Linked DNA regions of Homo sapiens: region 1 is linked to region 2. Evidence: promoter capture Hi-C in 16 types of primary human blood cells and fetal thymus (Javierre and others, 2016). All regions are on one chromosome and are shown on one strand. Each heading gives the region's core, a stretch centred on a gene start or on the middle of the fragment in contact. The rest is flanking DNA. Distances are from core to core; before and after follow the strand shown. Region 1 overlaps RNF10 (ring finger protein 10). Region 2 holds the start of UNC119B (unc-119 lipid binding chaperone B).

The links. The method cuts DNA at HindIII sites, captures the fragments that hold promoters and counts their contacts. A CHiCAGO score of 5 or more calls a contact.
Region 1: a contact is called between a fragment that was not itself captured here and the fragment with the promoter of UNC119B in region 2, in 7 of 17 cell types (M1 macrophages, naive CD8 T cells, M2 macrophages and 4 more). The highest score is 8.5, in M1 macrophages.

Annotation. Positions count from the first base shown.
Region 1 is chr12:120,570,705-120,575,800 of GRCh38, reverse strand. It overlaps RNF10 (ring finger protein 10), which reads right to left. Exons shown (of 17, transcript NM_014868.5): 14 at 4,510-4,610; 15 at 113-170; 16 at 1-9. Among named protein-coding and RNA genes, the nearest start is that of POP5, 8.1 kb to the left of the region's middle. The HindIII fragment of the contact is 8,105 bases long and covers 1-5,096 here.
Region 2 is chr12:120,707,177-120,712,166 of GRCh38, reverse strand. It overlaps UNC119B (unc-119 lipid binding chaperone B), which reads right to left and starts at 1,709. Exons shown (of 5, transcript NM_001080533.3): 1 at 1,449-1,709. The coding sequence starts at 1,692. LOC124903036 (a long non-coding RNA gene) reads left to right here and starts at 1,661. Exons shown (of 2, transcript XR_007063491.1): 1 at 1,661-1,730; 2 at 1,893-2,234. RefSeq lists silencers at 1,400-1,669, 1,760-1,819 and an enhancer at 950-1,792. The HindIII fragment of the contact is 2,396 bases long and covers 716-3,111 here.

The DNA of each region.
Region 1 (5,096 bases), core at 1-2,500, 140 kb after region 2:
TGTTCTCATCTAAAAAATACCAGTGTTAAAACTATAGAAACAACTCTTTTTCTAGAAACAGCCTTTTATGGAAAGAAGCCAAACTCCCCCTTCACCAGTGGACCATCCTCACCTTTCTTTGGAGCAGTTTTGGGCCACACATCTGCTTTTGCTTTTCCAACCCTCAGCATCTGCCAAAGTGGGAAAGAAGTGGGGGAGAGAATTTAAGTAGCTGGTCCAACTTCTTTTTCAGACCTACCTTGACTAACTGGAGAGGCACAGAACCAACTATCACCTTTGAAAAGATTTTCCAGGTACTTCTCTCCTTAACACACTGTTCTAGTCATGTCCTCTATATCCTGGCTAATGGAAATGGCAATGAAACCCACAAGGTAGTAAACCATAAGCTGTTTGTTCCTTAGGAAATGGGTAAAGAACACTGCACAGAAGGCACAAGAGATTCTTACTGAGACCCTCAAATTGGGAATTCCGACTTTCTGGTTAAGTTTTTCTGCCCTTCCTGGGACCCCTAAAAACATCGAGCTGTCGGAGGAAGCAGTGAGTAGTACCCTCCAGTTTTTGTTTTTTAGACAGTTTAGCTCTTGTTGCCCAGGCTGGCGTGCAATGGCACAATATTGGCTCACTGTGACCTGTGCCTCCCAGGTTCAAGCAATTCTGTCTCAGCCTCCCAAGTAGCTGGGATTACAGGCACCCGCCTGGCTAATTTTTGGATTTTTTTTTTTTTAGTAGAGACGGGGTTTCACCATGTTGGCCAGGCTGGTCCTGAACTCTTGACCTCAGTTAATCCCTCACCTTGGCCTCCCAAAGTGCTGGGATTATAGGCGTGAGCCACTGTGCCCGGCCTAGTACCCTCCAGTTTTTTTTGTTTTGTTCGAGATGGAGTTTCGCTCTTGTTGCCCAGGCTGGAGTGCAATGGCGCAAATCTTGGCTTACCGCAACCTCTGCCTCCCAGCTTCAAGTGATTCTCCTGCCTCATCCTCCTGAGTAGCTGGGATTATAGGCATGCACCACCACGCCCGGCTAATTTTTGTATTTTTAGTAAAGACGGGGTTTCTCCATGTTGGTCAGGCTGGTCTCGAACTCCTGACCTCAGGTGATCTGCCCGCCTTGGCCTCCCAAAGTGCTGGGATTACAGGCATGAGACACCGTGCCCAGCCAAGTACCCTCCAGTTTTAAACCACATGGCTACTAAACTTCAGTTACCTAAAGCCATGAAAACTAACTAAACTCTCTCCTGACACCGCTTCAACAGCCCCTCACTACCTTTTAGTCTGCTTTTCCAATAGCTCCTTCATCATTAACTTTCAGATCCAACCACAGGCCAGTAAAATTCCTGCAAGGACAATAAAATCAGAACAATCCTCATGCCCCTGAGGAATTTTCATTCCACTTGGCCAAGGCCAGCTTTGTAACTGCTGAAGGCCACTATGAGCCCCAACTGCAAATATGCCACTTAAAAGGCAGAGAACATTTTATTCCTGGAAAAATATCAAGAGACAAACCCCATGGGGTTCAAGCAGGGATGCCTTGTCCTTAAATCATATATTCCAAAGTGAGGAATGCCTATTACTCAAGATGAGTTTGTGTTGGCAGATGCCGATTTCATTAAATAACCTTTCTTCATTATGTTCCACTTTGGTGAACTTCTCCCTTTGTCTCTAGGAGTTTGGGTCTCCTACGGTTTAGACATTTGACCCTCCCAAGCCTCATGTTAAAATCTGATCCCCAATGCTGGAAGTGGGGACCTAATGGGAGATGTATGGGTCATGGGGGTGGACCCCTCATGAACAGATTAATGCCCTCCCTGGGGGATGGGAGACCTATTCTCGCATTCATTCCTGAAAGAGCTGATGAGTGATGTCTGCCACTGGATCCCAGTGGGAATGGCAGTACATGTGTGTTTGACAACCCTGGGCACTCCAGCCTCTGCCCTTACCACAGAAGGGATCTGAAGTAGCTGGTGTGTCCAGTTTCACAAAGGCTGCTTCAATAGCTTGGCTGAAGGCTATTTTGAAACTGGGCACAGGAACACGGTTGTTTAAAACGGCCTGGCACCTCCTCCCCTCCTTGCTTCCTCTTTAGCCATGTGATCTCTTCACAAGCAGGGACCCCTTCACTTCGTGTACCATGAGTGGAAGCAGCCTGAGGCACTCACCAGATGCCCAGTCCTCCAGCCAGCAGAGTCATGAGCCAAATAAACTTTTTTTTTTTTTTTGATAAATGACTCGGCGTCGGGTAATCTTTTATACCCACACAAATGGACTGAGACAGTATCCAAATAGTTTGACATGTGAATTGTTTTACTCTTAAAAGGTAATCAAAATGTCACCTATGTCTTATTCTTACCAAAATGTTTAAATGTAACCTGAATCCATTCATGAGAAATCAAACAAGTCCAAACTGTAGGATATTCTATAAAACAACTGGCCATGGAAGGGAAAAAAAAGGGGATATGGGCAAAGGAACGGTTATAGATCAAAGGAGACTAAAGAGACTTGACAACTAAATGCAGGGAGTAACAGGATTCTGCCCTGAGTTGAAAATGAAGGACGCTGAGACAAATGTGGAGATATAAATATGCACCATATTAGATATTACTGTGGCAGTGGAATTTCTCTAATGTGATCACTGTGGTTCTATAGGCGAATATCCCACTTTCTTTGGCATGTATCTCCTAAGTACTTAGCGGTAAAGTATCATTCAGGATATCTGCAACTTCTTTTCAACACAGAAAAAAGAGAAAGCAAATATATAACAGCAAAATAGTAACAATTAGTGAATCTAGGTCAAAAGTTTAAGTGTTCATAATACTATTCTTTCAACTCTGTATTTCAAAATAAAGTTCAAAGGAAAAAAGCAATAGCAATAAAGCCTAGTTTAAAAAAAAAAAAAAAAAAAAAGGCCAGGCGCAGTGGTTCATGTCTGTAATCCCAGCACTTTGGGAGGCTGAGGCAGGTGGATCGCCTGAGGTCAAGAGTTCTAGACCAGCCTGGCCAACATGGTAAAACCCTGTCTCTACTAAAAATACAAAAATTAGCCGGGCATGGTGGTAGGCGCCTGTAACCCAACCCCAGCTACCCGGGAGGCTGAGGCAGGAGAATTGCTTGAACCCGGGAGGCGGTGGTTGCAGTGAGCCGAGATCACGCCATTGCACTCCAGCCTTGGGGACAGGAGCAAGACTTCAACTCAAAACAAAACAAAACAAAACAAAACAAGTATTTGGCATAACTCCTGGGAGCCACTTGTTAATCATCTCTAAGTCCAGCAGTTAATTTTCAGGATCCCCCTCTCTTCTCACCTCACCTCCACAATTATTTCATGTTCCTTGACTTCGGAACCCTCCTTACCAAAGCTCAATTCTTGCTTATTTCTCAGTACAAACTGCTGTAATTACATAAGAAAGATCCGTATCAACTGCTCTAAAGAACTGTCAATGGCCGGGCATGGTGGCTCATGCCTGTAATCCCAGCTCTTTGGGAGGCTGAGGCAGGCGGATCACGAGGTCAGGAGATTGAGACCCTACTGGCTAATACGGTGAAACCCTGTCTCTACTAAAAATACAAAAAATTAGCCGGGCGTGGTGGCAGGCGCCTATAGTCCCAGCTACTCGGGAGGCTGAGGCAGGAGAATGGCGTGAACCCGGGAGGCGGAGCTTACAGCAAGCCAAGATCGCGCCACGGAACTCCAGCCTGGGGGACAGGGAGACTCCGTCTTGGAGAAGAGGAAAAAAAAAAAAAAACTGTCAAGATAATGATTCTGCACTAGCCTCAAAGAAGTTTATACGGACTTCTTACAAGGGCACATGTCAAGCTGTCCATCCATCTTCCTCACTTATCTGAATGCAGGAATGCTGAGTATTAGCTTGTTATCTTAGAGATTAACAAAGTGGTTTCACAGCAAGCCTCACTAGCCTATCGTTCCCCCACCCAGCTCCAAGGAAGCTGCTTTGGCTAGGTGCAGTATAACCAAGACAATCTTCCCCTCTCAAAGTGAAGAGAAATGGCTCATTTTATGTAACAGATAAATACCACCTGAATCAGAGGTCCTAGAACCAGAGACCAGTTAAAACTGATGCTGTATCCCCAGCCCCTACAATAGTATCCAGTACACAAGTTATCAAATGATTTTTAAAATATTCTAAACTCTGATTCTGCCTCAGCTATTCTTGGCCTCTTTCCTGGGTACGTCTACAGTAACATCTGAGGACTAAATCCATGAGCTTTCCTCTTAAGAATGCCTCCCATGATTATTAGAGTCAGTGCAACATTAGCCTGTTAAGTCTCTCCTTTTCCAACAGAGCGGACGTCCATGACATAATCTGCCCTCAACCAACTCCATGCTGCATAAAGCTCCGACAGGCAGTTAACTTCCCTCCTACCCATCAGATGACTCAATTTGTCCAGCCGTATTAGAATGAGAGGTAACAATCCCTGGAGGAGGTTCCCATAATAATGAGCAGCAGAGTTCATGTTAAATACCCCTGGGCTGCTTCACAAGCAAAGGATTTACCTGGGCAAAGGAAGGGAAGGGAGAGTCTTCTTCCAGACTCCCAACGCAGAATGAGGGACTGCCCTGACTGGCAGTGGGTGACAGAGGGGTCAGCAGAAAGTCTGAAAGGGAACCAGAGACCTGATTATATTCGTCACGTTCCAAGGGGTGTCCTTAACAAGAGAGATGAGTGAGCCCTGAGTCAGGTCTGGAAAATTACAAATCATCCCCTCAAAAAAAAAAAAGCAAACATTGATCCAACTTTCAACTCTTCCATGTTCTTAAAAAGCCAACAATATCACCAGTGAAATCAGCGACCGGTACAGGAAGAGGGAAGAGCTTCATCGTTACAGTAACTCTAGAAGTCATGGTAGAATCTACTCCAACTGTAAGAAAAGTCTTTGCTTTTGAAATGCTATACTTTCCACAAAGGCTGGCTCTCAAGGATAGGTACTGTCAGGGACTGGTTTTACAAGGATGAAATAGCTCCAAGAAAAAGATAAAATTTAATCAGCTCAGCTTTTACATTCCCGATAGTAGACACTATGACCTGGGAGTATCCAATTAGAATCCAAGACACATCAACAAGATCCAGCACAAGGATGCAA
Region 2 (4,990 bases), core at 460-2,959:
CAATGAGCAACAATCCCAAGCCCCCAGATAGGATCTGAGTGCCCACTGAGAATCCTGCTTAGGGCCAGGCACAGAATACCCTAACTCACTTGGATGGCAGGAGAGGGCATGAGGTTACCAAGACCAGGTGCTGAGCATCTGTACTTTCAGAGCCCCAAATGAAAACTGGTTCAGAAGAAAAGAAGCTTTTTCACACTGTTTCAATAAAACTAACAAGAATGTCTAAAGATACGTTCAGGTCTGGTAAGGACAGTCTCAACCCAAACAGTATTGGGAAACGGGGGCATCCAAATATCTAGAATCAAATTAAAACTCTTTTAGGAAATGGGAATTCCCTTTCGCACAGGGTGGACCAAGGCCTACTCCCCCCAAATTTCCATCCCCAAATTACTAGAGCTGCAATCGGCAACCTGAGGTGCACCTGAACAGCCCTGGGCTGCCTGCTATAGCAGCTCAGCAGACACCATGGCAGCCTTCGATCCATCCAGGGAATGTTGCTGCTGCCACAGGGTTAGGAGACTGCACGCCAGGAGTGATGGGCAGGCCAAGATAGGCCTAACTAGGTGAGTGCACACTCCTGCAGGGAAAACAGCAGCAAGAGAAAAGACGTCAAGTCAGGGACTGGCTTGGCAGAGAACAGAAAAAGGGAGATCACCCAGGGCAGGGACTGGGCAACATTTTTCTTCCCACCCATCCTCCTATCAACGAAAAAGCTTAGGATGGTTGCCTTTTGTGCAGGAAACGCATTTCTGAAACTCTGAAATCATTCTTAATTCACGAGAATGTCAAAAGCAGGATTCACATGTCGGAGTCTGTACACAAACTGAAACTTTATTTTTGTTTTAATGTGGCACAGTTTTAAATGAGCAGGAAATGCCACGGCTATGTGTTTTGAGGAAGAACCCATCTGCACACTAAGGGGCAACGCTCCCGACCCAAAGAGGGAGGGAGGCCGGGCAGGCTGCAATGGGGGAGGGCTGCCATGGGGCCAGGGCGGAGGAAGCAGGTAAGGCTTCTGGCCTGCCAGAGGGCTGGGGGAGCCTGGCTGAGCGGGAACTTCACTGATGGCCGGGGGTTCCAGGCTGAGGGCCCAGGGGCCCATTTATTAGGGGACCTCGGCCCCCGGCCGGCTCAGGAGGATCCAGTTCAGCTGAACGGGGCCCTCTACCCAAACAGGTCCGGCAGAGCTGGGGAGCCGACCGGCCGAAGGGCATCCTAGCGTGGCCGGACTCACAGGAATGCGGTCCAGCCCAGGAGAGTCCTTCCCCACCAGAGCTACGTGAGCGTGGCGGGAGCAAAGCCCGGCCGGCGGGGCAGCGGGAAGCGCGGCCCGGCCGGCCGAGGGGGTCTGGCGGGGACCCCCGCGCTGGTCAAGTGGCCGGGTCCGCTGAAGGCTCCGGGAGCCGGGGCACGGCGCGAGGGGAGGGCGCGGCCCGCGCGGCACTCACTCTCGGTGACCCGGCTGAGGCGCAGGACGTGCTCGGGCCGGATGGTGTCCAGCGCCAGCAGCTCCTGCTCCGTGACCGCTGCCCCGACGCCGTCGTCGGCCGCGTGGTGGGGCGCCTGCCGCCGCGCCTTCAGGCGGTTCAGGACGCCGCCGCCCGCCTTCTTCTTCTCCTCCTTGCCAGCCACCAGCCCCCCGGGCCCAGCCGCCGACGCCGCGGCCGCAGCCTTCGGGTTAGACCCGCTCATCGCTCCGCCGCCAAGATGGCCGCCGCCTCCACAGCGCGGTAACTATGGAGAGCGGGGGCGGGGCCCGGGGCCCGGCGGGGAAGGGGCGGGGAGGGGGCGGGGCGGGGGCGGGGGCGGGCGCCCGGGGGGCTGTGGAATTCCCTTTCGCACAGGGTGGACCAAGGCCCACTCTCCCCAAACTTCCATCCCCAAATAACTAGAGCTGCCATCAGCAACCTGAGGTGCACATGAGCAGCCCTGGGCTGACTCCTATAGCAATTCAGCGGACGACACCATGGCAGCCTTCGATCCATTCAGGGAATGCTGCTGCTGCCACAGGGTTAGGAGACCGCAGGCCAGGAGTGATGGGCAGGCCAAGATAGGCCTAACTGGGTGACTGCACACTCCTGCGGGGCCCGGGGGGCGGTGCTTCGGCTACTGCCCCAACTTTGGTCCTGCCAGGTGGAGGGCCTAGGGGTGGCTGGAGCTTCAGCAACCCCACTCCCCATCAGACCCCCAAGATCCTCCACGATGTTTAAATACATATCTTACGGTCAAATGAATTTACGTCATATAAACTTTCCTCCTCCTCATCCTCCTCCTGGTCTGAAAGAGCACACAGAATCTTCCGTGCACCATCTCGGCATTCTCAATCCAAGAGTTCTGTCACCAGTCCCAACAGCACAATGGCAACTAATTCCCAGTAATCACACCAAGAAGAAGAATGGCCAGTGTTTACTGCGCACTTGCTATATGGCAGGACACTTGCTATAGGGCAGGCTCCTCACCTCACAACAACCCTGTGAGGTATTACTGTCTCCATTTTACAGATCAGGAAGCTCAAGTTCAGAGAAGTCAGGTAACATGTCCAAAGTCCCTCAAGCAGTAAGAGGAGGGAACAGGGATTTTAATCCAGGTCCATCTGACCCAAGGCCTGTTCTTCAACACTAAGCTATTAGTGGACAATGCATCTTGAGAAAATGTTTATTAATATATTTAGCATAGAAGGTAAGTTAAAGCAGTGTTTGTTTTGCAAAGGCAGTTTCAAGACAAACTTTCCAATGAGATTGCCATCCGTAAGCCCTACTGTGCCAGGCCCTGGGCTAGACATTGGGCTAGGCTACAGGAGATGTAAGAGTGAGGGCAGGGATTGGGTCTGCCTCACCCCTGAATTCCCAGCAGTTCAGCTAATGCCTGACACGTGGTAGGTGCTCAGTAATGATTGAATGAGAGCCTGAACAGTATCCCACTATGGAAGAGCTCCCACTTTTGTTAGAGAAGACTGTAAAGTACACAATTCATTATGTGACCCTTCCTTTTCACAAGGTAGGTTAGTATGAACTGGAAGACAAACTAGATTCACTGACTGCACTAAGAGATGCAGCAAAGGTGCTAGGAGAACACACAGGAGTGGTTTATTCTGACCTGGCTGTAAAAGCTTGAGGGCTTCGGAAGTTTTCAGAGGCAATATCTGCACTGAGCTTTGGAAGTTAGCCATGACCTCACCAATTAGCCAGAAGTGGGTCAACAGGGGGATGTGGTCTACCGTCTTCCACCCTGAGGGGCTCCTTCTCTAGGGATTCTAGATCTGCACTGTTCTGTGTTGGAGGCCTGGGCCTGATTGATGCAGTGTGTCTGCTAGGTCTGACATCACCTCTCAGCCAGGCTAGAGTAAAATTGCAACCGTCCCCCAGAGCCTCTTGACGTTCTTGCCAGGCCTTGCTTGCTGAGTCCCTCTCACCAAAGCCACCAAGACAGGCATCTCTTGGTTCCTGGACAAAGTCCAAACCTGACCCCACCCCAGCTGCCCAATTGGGTGGCATAGTGTGTGGCCAAATTCCTACCCAAATGCTGTACTGTCTTTGAGAGATTAGTATATGGTGGCATTTAACTAACTGTTCAGGGAGATTTTAATAAATGTGTACAAAGAATTAAAGTCTTTCCTTTTACAAACAACTCTTTTTAAACCACTCAACAGAGTGGTTACTGAAGAATTTCCAGAACTTTTAATATGCTACTTGATTGTGAATGGCCAAGAGGGTGGTTTAGCATGTGGTCATTTCCCATATACTTATTTACGGAAGGTTTGTTCTCATAGCACCAAGACTAGTTACCTGGACCATGGCTTTTCTCTTTCTAGGGATGATGGCAAATGTAACCTCTTCACCTGCAATTCCACATCTAGGAATTTACCCTACCTGCATGCACAGAGATTTGTAATATTGACAAATTACAATAAATTACATTTGTATCCATTCACGTTACATAGAGCTGTTTTAAAAAATGAGACATATATATTAGTATGGAAAGATCTCAAACATATATTAAGTAGGGCAAAAAGCAAGGCACAGAGTCATATTTGTGTATTTATTTATTTAAGACAGGGTCTCACTCTTGTCACCCAGGCTGCAGTGCAGTGGCACAATCACAGCTCACTGCATCCAGCCGCGAATCCCATTTATTTAAAATAAAAAGTATATAAATATTTAGATGTGGGCCGAGTGTGGTGGTTCATGCCTGTAATCCCAGCACTTTGGGAGGCCAAGGTGAGCAAATTGCTTGAGCCCAGGAGTTCGAGACCAGCCTGGGAAACATGGCAAAACCCCGTCTCTACTAAAAATACGAAAATTAGCTGGGCGTGGTGGTGCATGCCAGTAGTCCCAGCTACTCAGGAGGCTGAGGTGGGAGAATCACCGGAGCCCAGGAAGCCGAGGCTGTGTGAGCTGAGATCGCACCACTGCACTTTAGCCTGGGCCATGGGCGTGAGACCCTGTCTCAAAAAAAAAAAAAAAAAAAACACAGATAGACATAGACATAAATATAAATATGCATTTGTAACTGTAAAGGAAGAGGTCTGGATATACATTAAAACATTAACTTTGATTACGTCTGGGGAGGAGAGTATCAGAAGAGACTAAAGGAAATATATTCACTTTTGACATTATTTAGAACTACTACTTCTGTACTATTTTATCTCAAGCATATAATCATGGGCTGCTTGTATACTTTTTTAAAAAGAAAATACCGGCCAGGTGCAGTGGCTCACGGCTATAATTCCAGCACTTTGGGAAGCCGAGGCAGGCAGATCACAACGTCAGGAGTTCGAGACCAGCCTGACCAATATGGTGAAACCCCGTCTCTACTAAAACTACAAAAATTAGCCGGGCATGGTGGCACACTCCTTTAGTCCCAGCTACTTGGGAGGCTGAGGCAGGAGAATCGCTTGAACCTGGGAGGTGGAGGTTGCAGTGAGCTGAGATCGCGCCACTGCACTCCAGCCTGGCAACAGAGCAAGACTCTGTCTCAAAAAAAAAAAAAA